Regions from separate parts of the Homo sapiens genome. Here region 2 is linked to region 1. The links are contacts of gene promoters, found by promoter capture Hi-C in blood cells and fetal thymus (Javierre and others, 2016). All regions are on one chromosome and are shown on one strand. The core of a region is centred on a gene start or on the middle of the fragment in contact, and the rest is flanking DNA. Distances in the headings are between cores, read along the strand shown.

What was found. The method cuts DNA at HindIII sites, captures the fragments that hold promoters and counts their contacts. A CHiCAGO score of 5 or more calls a contact.
Region 2: a contact is called between a fragment that was not itself captured here and the fragment with the promoter of SPEF1 in region 1, in 1 of 17 cell types (erythroblasts). The highest score is 5.2, in erythroblasts.

Annotation. Positions count from the first base shown.
Region 1 is chr20:3,780,182-3,782,712 of GRCh38, reverse strand. It overlaps SPEF1 (sperm flagellar 1), which reads left to right and starts at 1,265. Exons shown (of 7, transcript NM_015417.5): 1 at 1,265-1,534. The coding sequence starts at 1,426. RefSeq lists enhancers at 966-1,115, 1,077-1,371. The HindIII fragment of the contact is 3,327 bases long and covers 1-2,336 here.
Region 2 is chr20:4,188,836-4,191,366 of GRCh38, reverse strand. No RefSeq gene overlaps it. Among named protein-coding and RNA genes, the nearest start is that of LINC01433, 3.0 kb to the left of the region's middle. The HindIII fragment of the contact is 2,670 bases long and covers 1-2,531 here.

The DNA.
Region 1 (2,531 bases), core at 16-2,515:
AACAAGACGAATTACTTCCATTTGTCTCCTGCGAAAAAGAACAGTTCTTGCTGGAACTGAGACTGTCTCATTAATGATAGTACCAGCTGATACTAATAGGGCCCCTGCTCTGTGCTAAATGCTTTAGATGCTCACAAAGCCCCTATAAGGTAGGTAAAGCCATGAGAAACCAGGCAGCGGTCCGGTCAGGTGCCCAAGGCCATGCCGTTAGTCAAACTCTCTTCTCATCCTGACTCTAGAAGTACCTCTTCACTAAGGAGGGACCCATATTCCTAACCCCCTTATGGGTACTGCAATGAATTTGTTTCTTTCTTTTCTTTTCTTTCTTTTTTTTTTTTTTTTGAGATGGAGTCCCGCTCTGTCGCCTAGGCTGGAGTGCAATAGCATGATCTTGGCTCACCAACCTTTGACTCCCGGGTTCAAGCGATTCTCTTGCCTCAGCCTCCTCAGTGGCTGGGATTACAGGCATCCACCACCACACATGGCTAACTTTTTTTTGTATTTTCAGTAGAGACGGGGCGAAAGCCATGTTGGCCAGGCTGGTCTCGAACTCCTGACCTCAGGTGATCTGCCCGCCTCGGCCTCCCAAAGTGCTGGGATTACAGGCATGAGCCACTGTGCCCTGCCTGAAATGAATTTCTAATCCATGGAAGAATAGCTCATTGACGGGTGATGAGGGGTTTGGGACAAATAAGTGAGAACCATCGTCATTTCACAAAGGAGGAAATAGAGTTAAGAAGTTAAATGACCTGCCAAGGTACTGGCCTTGAACTCTGGTGTTCTCCCTGGGAGTCTGGGTTACCTATTAAATACCCCACTAGAACACTGCTGGGAAGGGCGAGTGGCAATGGCCCCATGAGCATAGAGTTTTTGGAGAGGGACGAAGCAGGAAGCAGTTGTATCACGCAATCCATTTGGGTGGCAGATTATCAACAACGCACCCCCAAATAAAGCTGACCAACACTGGAGTGCTCCCTTCACTTGGGACTAAAGGGCTGAAGGGCCAAGAAGGGGGATCCCCACCCTAGGGGTGCAGATGCAGGAATTCTGGGGTCCTGGTTGGCTTTGGCTGGTCCCAAAATGGATGAGTGGCTGGTCACTAGGTGGCGTGGGCACAGAAGTGATGCTTTCTTGGGAAGAAGACAAGGGCAGCTAACCGCCTTTTCAAAGCTCGGGCCTGAGAGGAGGTAGCGGGGAGGGGATAAAACTACAACTCCCAGAAGTCTTTGTACCCAGGAGAGTCGGGAATGGTTTCCATGGTTTCAGAAAACAATATGGCCGCTCCCAGCTGGGACGTGAGTCTCTGGATTAGGCAGGCAGAGGCAGTTATGGGCTTCTGCAGTGGCGAGAAAGGAAGCGCCTGAAGGGTCGTGAGGCTGGGGCGGGACCCGGCACCGCTGGGGCGGCCAGGCCGTGAGGACGCCAATGGCGAGCAGCGTGGACGAGGAGGCGCTGCACCAGCTGTACCTGTGGGTAGACAACATCCCTCTGTCCCGGCCCAAGCGAAACCTCTCCCGGGACTTTAGCGATGGAGGTGTGTGCCCTTGTGTGTCTGCATGTTCTGTCCTGTATGTTCGTGTGTAACGGGTCTCTGTGCAAACTCTTTGTGTTTGTGTGCTTGTGGGAGTGGGGAGGAATCTGCCTCCTGGGACTTCAAATTTTAGATGTGTGTGCTTGTTTTCTATTTGCATCTGTGTGTGAACGATGTGTGTCCATATATGTATGTCTACATGTTCTATCCTGTGTGCATGTTGGGGGGGGTGCCTCTAACTCCCTCCAGGGACATTAATGATTAAGATATGTGTCTGCATATGTATTTATGCATTTCTGTATGTGCTCACTCATTGCTATGTGTTCTATGTCTTCTGGGAGTCTGAGCATGTGTGTGTTCATATGTGTTGACATGTTTAGTCTTGTATTTGGGGGGGTCTTGTGTGCATGTGTTTCTTTGTGATTGTGAAGGTGTTTGTGTTTCTAGGAATGTCTCCTGGGATCTCAATGACAGAAATACTTATCTGTCATCTTTTCATGTCAAGTACTTCTATGCATCTCTGTATCTGTATATTTGGGGAGGCTGTGTGCATATGTGGCTTTTTGTGCTTCTGTCTATGTGTGTTCTACATGTGTGCCTATGTGTGTCTAGCATGTGTTTGTTCTATGTGTCTACACATTCTGCCCTATGTATCTATGTGTAGGGGGATCTTATCACATGTGTCTCTGCTTACGTGAGTCTTTTACTCTCCTGGAACTTTGGTGTTGGAGTGTGTGTGTGTGTGTGTGTGTGTGTGTGTGTGTGCATCATGCATCCATGTGAATTCCCTGGGCTCCTGAAAGCTTCTCTTGGAGACTCATTCTCTTTTTTTTTTTTTTTTTTTTTTGAGACAGAGTCTCACTCTTGTCGCCCAGGCTGGAGTGCAGTGGCATGATCTCAGCTCACTGCAACCTCCACCTCCTGAGTTCAAGCGATTCTTCTGCCTCAGCCACCCAAGTAGCTGGGTTTACATGCACCACCACACCTGGCTAACTTTTGT
Region 2 (2,531 bases), core at 20-2,519, 410 kb before region 1:
AGACTTCAGCTCATGTCTCGGCACCTCTGAGCAACCCTGGGCAAGTTACTTAACTTCTCTGAGGTTTCACTTGCCCACAGGAATAAATAAAGCCTGAGTTGGCATCACTGTCAAATCAGTATCACATTCACATGGCATAGTGCCAGGCAATTGGCACTAAGTGAATATTCTCTCCCTCCCTCTTACCCACCCATGAAGCTCCCTGAAGTGCAGTCACCAAGTAAACATTTCCAGACCTTTCACCCCACCATGGAGTCCTTTAAAATTCCTCTGCCTATACACTGAGAACCTATTTATCACTTTCTTCCCCGATACTTATGTGATGGGGCTGCTTGTCTCCATCCCACTGCAGTGGATGGGGAAATCCAACAACTGAGGAGTCAGAAGCAGACAGCAGACTATGAGTCATGGAAGGTAACAGGTAATAGAAGGTGGCTTCCATAAAGTGACCCTGGGCCAGGGAGGAGACAGACATGCTTTGACCAAAGTAAGGTCCAAATTTACATTGTCTGCTTATGTACCATTACAGAAAGATGTCCAAGACATATTGTGGGTTTTTTTGATTTTTTATTTGTTTTTCTGTTTGTTTTTGAGACAGAGTTTCACTCTTGTTGCCCAGGCTGGAGTTCAATGGCGCGATCTCGGCTCGCTGCAACCTCCACCTCCTGGGTTCAAGCAATTCTCCTGCCTCAGCCTCCCGAGTAGCTGGGATTACAGGTATGCATCACCACACCCGGCTTATTTTTTGTACTTTTAGTAGAGACAGGGTTTCACCATGTTGGCCAGGCTTGTCTTGAACTCCTGACCTCAGGTGATCCACCCGCCTTGGCCTCTCAAGGTGCTGGGACTACAGGTGTGAGCCACCGCGCCCAGCCTACAGGACATATTGTTAACTAAAACAAGCAAAATCAGGACAAGATGAATACTTTGGTGCTTTTGTATAAAAAGGAGGGAGAAGAGTGTTTTTATATTGACTTACATCTAGGAATGGATACCCCTAGGGCTGTGGGAGAGGCAACAGTGACTGGGGACACTGTGAGAGGGAACATTTCAGTGTATTGTATCCACGTGGACAGCTTTTGGGCTTAAACTACATGAACAGATCATCTATTCAGACAATTTTTCATATATAGGCTGGGCATAGTGGCTACGCCTGTAATCCCAACACCTTGGGAGTCCGAGGCGGGTGGATCACCTGAGGTCAGGAGTTTGAGACCAGTCTGGCCAATATAGCAAAACCCCAACTCTATTTAAAATAGAAAAATTAGCTGGGCATGGTGGTTCGTGCCTTAATCCCAGCTACTCGGGAAGCTGAGGCAGGAGAATCGCTTGAGCCTGGGAGGTGGAGGTTGCAGTGAGCCGGGATCATGCCACTGCACTCCAGCCTAAGCAACTGAGTGAAACTCCGTCTCAAAAAAAAAAAAAATTCATATATATATTTAGACATTTTTCAGTTATGCCAGCAGGTGGGTATGAATCCCTTGATATAAGCTCCATGAAGATTTCTGGCAGATCAACCCTGGCAAAGCAAAATGTCTGTGAGGTTTGTGCATGTAGGTGTGTGTGCGTAAGTGGATGCAGGTAAGCATGTGTGTACGTGTGTCTGTGTGTTAGACATCTCCATCACAACCTACCAGCCTGGGCAATATAATGAGACACTCTCTCTACAAAAAAATAAAAATAAAAATTAGCCAGGCATGGTGGCACATGCCTGTAGTCCCAGCCACTCCTGAGTAAGGAGGATCATTTAAGCCCAGGAGTCTGAGGCTGCAGTGAGCCATGATCGCACCGCTGTCTCCAGCCTGGGCAACAGAGTGAGATGCTATTTCAATCAATCAATCAATCACCTGGGAGGAGGAAGGGGCTGTCATGTCCTGTCAAGGGCAGGGCCCTAAATGTCCATGAAGGGGACCTGACCTAAGCTCTTCATAACTTCTCCCCATCACCCCACCCTTCAACTCTGTAGAATTCAAATTTCATCACTAGAAATCTAGGATAACAAAATGACTAACTGTTCTTTAAGATGACTGGGGACAGTGTGAATGGGGACATTTTAGTGTATTCTTATATAGCTTTTGGGCTTAAACCACATGGACAGAGCCATGTGGATCTGAATTCAAATTTCATCACTAGAAATGTGGAGTAACAAAATGACTGTTCTTTAAGGTTCTGTGTGTGTGTGTATGTAGGTAGGTATATGTGTAGGGTAGAGAGGTGAGTGTATGTAGGTGTGTGTACCTGTATATGTCATGTGGGTTATGTGTAAGGTGTAGTGGTGAGTATATGTAGGTATGTGTACCTATATATGTGGGTGAGTATATATAAGGGGGTAGATGTGTCTTTTTACTCAGCAAAAAGAGAAGAAAAAGAAGTTTTTCTTTTTTAAAAGACATCTGTAGAGATGGGGTCTCACTGTGTTGCCCAGGCTGGTTTCAAGTTCCCAGGCTCAAGCAATCCTCCTGCCTCAGCCTCCCAAATTGGTGGGATTACAGGCATAAGCCACCATGTCCAGCCTAGGACCCTTTTCTAGA